2 separate regions of the Homo sapiens genome follow, and region 1 is linked to region 2. Evidence: promoter capture Hi-C in 16 types of primary human blood cells and fetal thymus (Javierre and others, 2016). All regions are on one chromosome and are shown on one strand. The core of a region is centred on a gene start or on the middle of the fragment in contact, and the rest is flanking DNA. Distances in the headings are between cores, read along the strand shown.

What was found. The method cuts DNA at HindIII sites, captures the fragments that hold promoters and counts their contacts. A CHiCAGO score of 5 or more calls a contact.
Region 1: a contact is called between the fragment with the promoter of PPP1R9A here and the fragment with the promoter of CASD1 in region 2, in 1 of 17 cell types (endothelial precursors). The highest score is 5.9, in endothelial precursors.

The regions. Positions count from the first base shown.
Region 1 is chr7:94,905,887-94,911,011 of GRCh38, reverse strand. It overlaps PPP1R9A (protein phosphatase 1 regulatory subunit 9A), which reads right to left and starts at 3,418. Exons shown (of 20, transcript NM_001166160.2): 1 at 3,310-3,418; 2 at 1-1,114. The coding sequence starts at 898. RefSeq lists an enhancer at 2,601-3,361. The HindIII fragment of the contact is 9,522 bases long and covers 1-5,125 here.
Region 2 is chr7:94,506,636-94,511,875 of GRCh38, reverse strand. CASD1 (CAS1 domain sialic acid O acetyltransferase 1) reads right to left here and starts at 2,067. Exons shown (of 18, transcript NM_022900.5): 1 at 1,659-2,067. The coding sequence starts at 1,791. RefSeq lists silencers at 1,404-1,763, 1,864-2,013, 2,054-2,273 and enhancers at 807-1,793, 1,794-2,782. The HindIII fragment of the contact is 8,005 bases long and covers 1-5,240 here.

The sequences.
Region 1 (5,125 bases), core at 2,169-4,668, 400 kb before region 2:
TCTGCTGGATCTCTTCACCAGGTATCGAAGCTAGAGAGGTACTTTTAGAAGCCACTTCTGGTACTGGAGTTGCATTACTCTTGTGAGCATCCTCTGTATCAACACCTCGCTTGTTTGAAGGAGGCCAGGAATTAGAATCCTTCAGGTGACCAAATGTGTCAAGATTTGTAACAGTAACAGATGGTAAATTCAAGGGATAATGCCCAGTCACTGAGTATTCATTGTTTTCAGCCTTCTCAGAAATGATGGCACTGGGAGAATCAGTGTTCTCAAATACTGCACTCAGTTGACTCACAGTTGGGGAGACAGCCTCAGTTCGGGAGCTAAGGCTGTCCAAGGAATCAGTACTGCCTCTGTTGGACTTGGAACCTCCCCATTCATCCTGAGGTTCACTCCCTCCAGCTTTCTCTTTCTTTGGGGAATAGCGGTTGTTCTGTCCTGATTCATGCACACTTCTCTCAAACATCTTTCGAGTCTCAGTGAACTTGGAATATGAAGGGCCATCGTACATAGTGTCAAATCTACTAATTCGTTCAGAAACAGAAGACTCCAACTTAACAACTGAGCCATCTGTTTTTTCCAGAAATTCTTTGGGCTTCATTCTTCTCTGAGGAGATGAATGTCCACCTTTCCCCCTTGTTTTGGCAATGACTGCAGCATTCTCGTTGGGTTCCATACCCATCTGCATAAATAGGTTTTTAATTCTGTTGACATTGGAGCCATATTTCCTCCCCCTGCTCTGCTGGGAGCCCTCACCTTCTTTTGTTTTTTGTTCCCCATCTGACTTGGGTTTGTCAAAGGTACTTTTCAGTGCCTGAAACTCAGTTCGATATGCATTCCTGTGAGGAGAGGCACTTCTGAGAGTGGTTCGTTCACCTGAAGACTCAGTTTTCAACATTTTCACTTCAGGGGTGAAAAGCCAATGTTCATAATGATCAAAGAAAAAAACCAAAAACCAAGATACCTCTCTTCTCTAATCACCAGTATTGGGTCAAGAAAAGTACCTCTCAAATGGTATACGGTGTCAGTGATCGTCCCAACAGGTGTATTAGGAACTTAGTCACAGTCAAGAGTTACACAGAATGATTTTTTCAAAGCAAGACTAGAGGTTCATCTGCAATAGAAAAGAATGAATTTCTGAATTCATTTACTTATTTGAATTTATGTCTAGTCAAATAACATACATTTTTTTTTCCAAATGGCTTAGCCACGTGGCAAACAGAAGAGATTACTCATTGAAATGGGAAGTTAAAAGTCAAAAAGTTATCATTCTGATTGGTCTTTGGTAAAAAAAAAAAAAAAAAAGTTCCAAACACAATTTGGAGATACCTATCAAAATCTCACACACACACAAACACATACACACACTCACAAATACAAGCTACACATAAGTATATTTGAAAGCAATACTTTAGCCCAAGTTTTGGTCGCTTTTGTGAATGCCCTTTAAAAAGAAACCAGCAGTTCATCGATCTTTAAGAAATCATCAAACTGTCCAGAAAATCAACTTCATTTAGGATTCTCCACAATTAGGTAGAACTTATTCTTTCTAAGTACAATTAAGTTTGGAATCTATGTTTACAAACTCCAAAACATGCCTACAGCGGCATATTTTACTTTTTTTGGTCCAATGTTCTCATCTACAGCATCCCCAAAGCAATACTAATGCAATTTCAGATCAAAACAAGGAGAAAAAAAGTTCCTGAATAGCAATAAGTTTCACTAAGTTCAGTTATAACAAGTATTTGGAAGTTTCCTAACAGTGGTTATTATTAATTATGGAGTGGGATGCAGACTACCAAGGGAATAAATGCGTAAGAATGTGACAATCAGAAAGCAAATATACTGTGACACCCCTTTTCACAGCCCTGATTTGTTTATTCTTTCTTGCCTCTAACTTACTACAGTTCAACACGCAACGCAATGCATGCTTGCTGGTCTCTTTAAGCCCACAGCAGGATTTTATATCAATAAGCCAGCAATCAAATACTTCAAGATATGCTGAGGAGCAGACAATGCAGGCAGTTCTAAAGATTTTTCATTTTATTTTTGTTTTGTTTTGATATTAGACCGAGCCACATCACCCTCACGCACAATCAGCTGAGGAGGCACACACTTTCACTTAAACCGTCTCCAAACTCGGCTCCTGGCCCAGCACGCATGCATGGCCCATGCAGACAAACAAGAAAGGCTTTGGAGTGTGGTGCCTGTTTTTTTCTTTTTTTGTAAAGCATCGACAATCTCCTTTTACCCTGACCATTCTTTTTAAAGCCACAAACACCCTCCCCTCTCCCCTACACACACCCCCCATTCCCTCCCCCGCCAATTCCAACCCAAGGAGGCGGGGGCGGGGGAGATGGGGCCGCCGGGGGATTCAAAACCTGCCCTCACAAAAGACAAACATAAATAACACCAACTTGAGAGGCAGCCGATTCCCAAGCCCGGTTCGGGACGCAATCCCTCGGCCCTGGGGCAGGACCGGGAGAGCAGGTGACGCCAAGCGCTATGGTAGGAGGTCGCAGTCTAGCTTTGTGCCAAGAAGCACCTGAAGTCCTAACACATTGGCTGCAGCTCCCGGCGGCTGCCAGGCGGATCCCACTGTGACACGGAGAGAGACGAGCTCCCTGGCCACATTTAAAAAAATAGAAAAGAAAAAAAATTACAGGGTAATGAAAATAAATCCCTTTGTTTTTCCTCCCAATGTGCCAGGAAACAATAGATCCCACTGATAATGCCTCCGATCTTCAACCTATTGCTCCTCCACCACAACCCACCCCCACCCCCAGCCTGCAACTCAGCCTTTGTACAAGCCGATTTTTTCCTCCTCTCCACCCTCCCCAACTCCTCGCCCCGCGCTCAGCCTCCCCCTTACCCGAGCGGGAGCGCCGCGGGCGGGGAGGGTCGGGCCGCCGCGGCTCCCACCCCCTCCTCGCAGGCGCCCCCCGCCCCACGGTGGACGCGGCGGCTCGGCTCGGCGCCGGCCCGCTGGGTACACCGCAACCCGCTCCTCACGGCGCAGCGCGTAGGGCGGCTGCGGCGGCCGCTTCCACTCGCGCGTCGGCCCCCAGGCGCTCCCTGCCCGCGGCGGGCGGCCCCGGGAGGCGCGCTGCGCTCCCCAACGCCATTGCGGGCGGGCGGCGGCCCGAGCAGCGACGCGCCCGCACGCTCGGGCCGGCCTGGGGCCAGGGGTGCCGGCCGGGGAAGGGGTTTGGCCCACGTGCGGTCGCCACGCCGGGCCGTTTCGGCGGCCGCGGTGTAATGGAGGAGAGGCCGCGGGGGTGAGGAAGGCCGGGGTAACAGGTGCCTCACCTCGGCTGATGGGATTAACTCTAGGGCCGCAGAGAGAGGGAGCCCGGCAGCAAAATCCCGGGAGAGGGAGAGAGAGGGAGCCTCTGGCGGCCAAGGAAGGGCGAAAAGCACCGGCCCGAGGCGAGGCCGCCCCACCCCCTCGGCCGTGGGCGAGGGGCCTCTCCGGCCTGGGGCAAGGCCCCTTCCTGTTCGGGTGTTGGCTCCGGAACTTGGTTCTGGGGCTGACCGCTGCTGGGGCCCCACTTAGTCTGAGTCTGCAGTTAACTCCGTGACCCCAAGGCATCCAAGTCCCAGGCCACTCTGCTGACCTGGAAGGCCAAGACGTAGGCCCAAGTCTGGTGTGGCCTTCACCTAAGCCACTGCGCCTGGCCTACTACTCACCTTGACCTTAAGATCTCACTGCCAAAGAGAAAGGGATGAGGAGGTCTTCTACCTTTCCTGTCTAGGGAGAGTTTTTCAGCTCACTCCCCCCCGAACCCCGCCCTTTTCTAAAGGCTCAGTACAACCTCTTACACCCCCAAGTACCGGAAGTGTTACCACCTTCCTGCAAGATATAAAACTGATCATGACTGTCAATACAGATGTTTAAACCAATCCTTCCAAAAAGCCTAGGGAGCAGGAACTCTTAAAAAATAATTTTTCAAGAAGGTAAAAACATGACAATGGTAGAAATATAAAATGAACATTGGTCAAAATTTTTATAACTCTTTTAATTAGGAAGGGAACCCCAGCAAGATACTGCAACCCATTCACGTGAGACTGTGAAGAGTAGACATAGAGGCAAGAAGAGGCAAATCTGCTTACTATTCTATAGAGCACTGAAATGTAATGTTTATTATTATCTGCTTTACAGGGCGGTAACCAGTTGTATCTGTAAAGTAACAAATTTGCATTCTGTAGATAAAACTCATTTACATTACCAAACGTTTCTACAGCTTACTGAGTAGTAAAATAGCCTAGTGAAAGTCAGTCTAAGTAAGGTGCAGACGACTGTAAATTTCACAACACTCCGGAGTCCTGTAGATAACATCCAGCATTCCATTGAAAGGACAAACAGTAATCTTTTGCTCATTTCAAAGTCTTTCACAAGTTTTCCCAACATAACTATTTTTAGCCCCATTTCACTGATGGAAAAACTAAGGTTTAGGTTTTGTAACTTACCCGCTTCTTTATTGGCTATTAATAGTAAATGATTATGGCTGAATATGAACCCAGGCAAGTCCGTACACAAATTCTATATACTCTGGGAGCAAAATCTTTTCATTTCAGAAGGATTTTGTAACTACTCAATACTCAGTTCTATGTATTTTTTAATTTTAAGCAGCAAGGGCTTTTTTTTCCTTTAAGCATCACCAAATTCTGGGTCCTTTCCCAAGAAATTGGCATTCTCTGTCTACGAAGTGGATGTCACTTCTATAAGCATAAACAGATGTAACAGGCAATGTGAGGGGGCTGTGGTTCCAGGCTCCACTTTTGGAAAGAACATTTCTGCTGTCTGGGATAATCTAGTGGAAAAGTTCCTGTCATTTATTTGCAGTATGGAAACCAGGTTTTTTAGGCGAATAACCTAAATAAATGCAGAATCTAATCACTGAGTTCTGTCTGTAGAAGAGGGGGCAGAGTTGGCAATAAAGACAGTCTTACACCTCTTTGCAGAAAGATGATTCATACAGAAAAGCACCCTAAAGGATTTGGTTGGTTTGAGTTTTATCTTTTGAAAATCTGAAACTTCTGGAAAAGTTCATACTGAAGGAATGATAGAGTTTTAAACCCGATGGTGAGAATTTAAGATTCCTAGATTTCCTATAATGGACCT
Region 2 (5,240 bases), core at 818-3,317:
ATCTGACATTCTATTCTCCCTGCTGATGACAGATCTTGATAAGATGAAATCTATAATCTAAAAATAATAGTAGTCCAAGGTTATCAAAAGATAAAAAGCACAAAAAAATAAAAGGAAGGGGACTAGATGTTTATTTATCTTAGGACAATAGTACTGTAGTTATAAAATTTCTCTCTACTACCATTACATAAATTGAATTAAATTACTGTTCTTTTATACCAAATTGGCATAAAATGATTAATAGTAGTTAAAAGAAATATTTCCTCAAAACCACCACAAATCAATGCATCAACATTGCTAGTTTTACATGATTGTAGATAAACCAAGGCCTTGCAAGGTCGTATGGCTGTGATCTGGAGAGAGCTGGAGAGAGGCCAAAAGGTTATAAAGAATCTAATTTTTAAAATCAATTTAGTATACTAAAAGCTGTTCACCCAGTATGGCTCTAGAGTACAATATTTTTAATTCTCAAGAGTTGGAAGAAATAAAGCAGCAAAACTGACCAAAATTGAAAGATCTCCTGGGATGAGAATACAGCGCAGACTCCAACAACCCGTTTATGGATATTTTGCCAAAGTAGGTGTAAATTTAAACGGGCACAGCGCTAATTTGCACCTGTCCATTACACATTACATCTTGACTGATTAATCTCACAGTCACCAAGAGCTGGCCAGATAATGGCTTTGATAGTATTAAGAGCCAAAAATAAAAGATCCTATCATTATTAATTTCCCTCTGCCTGTCAGCCTCTCTCCCAGTGACATTTTTACAAAGGAAAAAAAACAATCAATCAGCAAGGAGAAGTAAATATCCCTTGATTACTGAAAGATAATTCATTCTCAAATCAGGTCATATTTCCTTTTCCCCTTTACACCAATTTCAAAACCCATGGCCAAGGCCTGCTTTCAAAGTGCTTACAACTTGCTTTCAACTGCCCACCTTTACGCCTGTCAACCCACAACTTCCTTCCAAAAATCTGCTCTGGTGCCTTAACTTTGTAAAAAGTGTGCACTCCGAAGCCTTTAAACGTTTCTGCATCACAAAAGCTGGGTGGCACCTCTTCCATTTGGCCACAGGCATCTTTTGCCAGCTGTCGCCCTTTTGGCAAAGGAAAATGGGGGCGGCCCTTGCCGCTGTCCAACAGCCCAGACTGGGTGTTACAGGGCAGAGGCAAAATTAAACAAAGGCTAAGGAGCCGGACCCTTAAGAGGCAGGACCTGCGACCCCACTGCTGGCAGCGGTGCCCCTTGCAGGGCGGCCTTGGGCTTCATGCGCCCCGGGCTGCCCCCAAGGACCGCCTGTCCGACTTCCTGCACGCGAGCCCCTGATCTGGAGCGTCTCCCCGAACCCAGACCGCTCAGGAGCCGGACCTCAGCAGCACTTTTGGCCAGGTCCAGGGTTGGCGCCCCCGACCCCAGCGCGGGCGGCTCGGGGCGCCCAGAACCACCAGCCATTGTCCTTTGGTGGCCCCCACTGGGGTCCACTCAGTTGGCCTCGGGCGCCGGCCGCTGCTGGGGACACCTGGGGGAACCGCCTCCCCCGCGGGCCGGGCCGGCGGAAGGCCGCGTGGGCGTGTGTTGGGCGATGGGGGCGGCCTCCAGCCGCCGCGTCGCCGCCTCCCCCACGGCCTGCCCGGGCAGAGGGGAGGGCCCGCTCACCTCGGTAGCGGCGGGAGGCGAGGTGGCACGCTGCGAGCAGCAGCACGGCCACCAGCGCCAGCACCTTGGCGCTCCTCACGCTGAAGTAGTGGTTGATCTCCCGCTTGCCCAGGTTGTAGGCCAGAGCCGCCATCTTGGTTCCTCCATGACAACAGTGCGCGGCGGAGCGGGAAAGGGGCGCCGCACAGGGGCAGCACTGGGGCTGCCGCCGCTGCAGCCAGGCGAGGAGCGGCCGCCAGCTCCCCAGGCCGCCACCTGCGCCTCCCGCCGGGGAACCTGACCCCGCGGCCGCGGCGCCCCCGACCTCCGCCTGCCCCTCCTCGGCCGCGGCCGACTCGGCGGCCTCCCCCCAGCCCCGCCGCCGCTGCTCCGCCGTGCCGGTTCCCCAGGCGCCCTGGACGCCTGTCTCCTCCCCTTCCTCCTCCTCTTTAGCCTCCTGCCTTAATAGCGGCTGCGCCTGCGAGGGGGGTCCGGATGCCCAGTGCTCCGGGGTCACCGGGTCACGCGCCCCGGCGGGCGGCGGCGGCTGCGGCAGAGCCATGGGGGTGTGGGGAGAGAGTACTAGGGGTACCCGCCTGGCCCGGACGCGAGCCTTAGGGCTGTCTCCTAGTTTACTGGCCGCTACCTGAGCCCAGGTTGGGGCAATAGAACTACAGTTCCGGGAGAAAAGTACACATCGTCCCATTCCTTCCTTCCCCAACACTCCCCTTTCTCAGCCTTCTACTGCCAGAACCCGCCCAGCGGGATGCGAAGGACACCCTAAGGTCGTTTATTGTCTGGCTATCCGTGGCCTGGCTGGTCAGTCTGGCTGCCCCTGGGTGCTGGCCAGATTGGATTGATGGATCCAGTTGATGGTGCTGGCCGATGGATTGCTGGCATCCAACCCAGGAGTGAAACCAGTCTTAACACTTAACTCACCGCTCTGGCCAGTTTCTCTTAAACCGTTTTTTTAATGTCCTCAGTTTGCCCAGTTCTGGTGGGCGAAAGTACACCAAAGTTCCGAATGGAAGGTACAGAAGGAGCCTAACTTAGTGTAGGTGTTGATGAGAAAAGAGTCTGACTCTCACTTGTATTTACGCAAGTTTGGCTAGGTCGATGTGCCAAAAAAATTCGTTTTTTTTGAGAGGGAGTCTCACCCTGTCGCCCAAGCTCTAGTGCAGTGGCGTGATCTTCGCTCACTGCAGCCTCCCCCTCCTGGGTTCAAATGGTTGTCCTGCCTGAGCCTGCCGAGTAGCAGAGATTGCAGGCGCCCGCCACCACACCCGTTTAATTTTTGTATTTTAATAGAGACGGGGGTTTCACCATTTTGGTCAGGCTGGTCTCGAACTCCTGACCTCAAATGATCTGCCCATCTCGGCCTCCCAAAGTGCTGGGATTACAGGCATGAGCCACCAAGCCTAGCCAAAAAAAATTTTTCTTAATGTGCTTATGACAATCATCCCCGCTACTAACGTTGGTTAATGTTTTGTGATTCTCAATAAAGCCAGCACTCCATTTCCTTAATAAAGCATTGTTATCCCTACTCTCCTCTCGCTCCCACCCCACCTTTTTTAAATGGTTTTTCTTGTTGCCTTCCAGATGGGAATGGTTATTTACATTGCTTGCCATTCTACTTGCCTTGCCTTGTTTAGAGTGAGTCATTGTTTAGTTGGGGTGTTGTCAAGTATTCTTTACAACTTTCCCATTTAGCCATTCCTGAACTTGTGCTTATAGGCCCCTCTTAAAATTATAGAATATTAGATATGAAGGGACTGTAGAGATCTTGTCTACTCATTCCCATTCTCTTCATCCAAGGACTCTTTATTATGTTTTCATCCATGGACTTTATATCTTGAAAGATTTTGTCACTTAAATGAAATCACATACATCACTGTCATGGATGTAATGCTAATAAGCAATAAAGTTAAATAAGTGTACAAACACTTAGGCACTGTTCCCTGCAAATAGTCTTTTAATTTTGGCTGTCATTCTGATCAGAGGTTGATCACATGTTGTAAGAATTGGGTATTGTAAAAACCAGATAACTCTGCCAACAATATATGGTCTGCCAATCACATCCTAGACATTTCTATGATGTCATTACCAGCAAATTAGAATTTCTGATCAGCATGCAATAACCAGTGTTAACCCAAAGGGTTGAGTTAATGCCTGCAAAAAGTAAAGAAACTTGACATTCTATTAATTGCAATTTCCAGAAGGCTTTCTTAAATACTGTAAATAGCTTGTGAACCTCCTTTTTCTTCTCTCAAGTTTAAGGCCAATCTCTCTACCTCTGCTCTGAATCTTTTCTTATCCTCCTTTCTTGAGGGTGTTGATTCCTCCATCAGTTATCCCCATGCAAATCATTCTTTTTCTGTGTCTTCCAATTCTCCCTATCACCTTGCTGTTTGCCTTCCTCCAAAAAAAATTTTTTTTTAATGAAAAACACCCATGGACTCTGTTCCTGCATGTTTACCTCATCAACTCTTTCCTCCTCTGGCAAACATCTAGAAAGAGCAGTGTTGACTCTCTGCCTTCACTGGCTCAATTAGCATTCTCTCTTCAGCCATTTCATTGTTCTTCACCAAGGCTGTGTGGTATGACTACTTGTTAAATCCAAGGGACACTTTATATTCCTTATCTTCCTGGACCATTTTGTGGCACCTGACATTGTTGACCATTCTTCCTTATTTGGTATCCATCTAAAACAGAGCGGAGACTTTGTTTTCAGCCACTTCTTGCTGTTTTTAAGTGACCTTAGGATCACTTAGTCATTATTTAGTGGTCCCACCACTGCCATGGGATCACCTTCCTTATACACACGCGCGCGCACACACACACACACACACCTGATATGTCAGTCCATATTTATCTATCCTCATGCTGTAAGAACCATCTGCCTACTAGGATATCCTTCAGGTACCTAATATATATCATTTCCTAAACAAACTCATCACCTTCCTTCTCCTTTATCTACTTTCAACCTTTATGCCTAAGTTTTCATCATTAACCCAGCCGTCCAAGCAAGTGTTTGAGTCATCCTTGCTTTCTTCTAAATAACTCTCAACTGTGTTGCCCCCTCTCTATCCACTTGCTGTTACCTTGGTTAAGGGATGATTTCTTGCCTGCATTTCTTATCCTTTTACTCGTCTTTCTCAGGTCACTCGAAAATCCAACCCTACTGCCATTCTGCCATACCTCTTACCAGACAGAACTTTCTTAAATTAAAATCTCGTAATGTCATTTCCTGCTAAAAACTAGTTAGTGGCTCCACGTTTATTTCCTGACCCCTGAGCTATCCAGAATGTTTACTAATGCTCAGCATGTTACCTCACACCTTAATAATATTTTAAAAAGAGAGAGACAGAAACCATCTGACAGAAACTCTCTCAACCTATGCATTATTTTTATTTTTATTTTTATTTTTTGAGATGGAGTCTCACTCTGTCGCCCAAGCTAGAGTGCAGTGGTGTGATCTTGGCTCACTGCAACCTCTGCCTCCCAGGTTCAAATGATTCTCCTGCCTGTCTCCCGAGTAGCTGGGACTACAGGTGTGCACCACCACGCCTGGCTAATTTTTGTATGTTTAGTAGAGACGGGGTT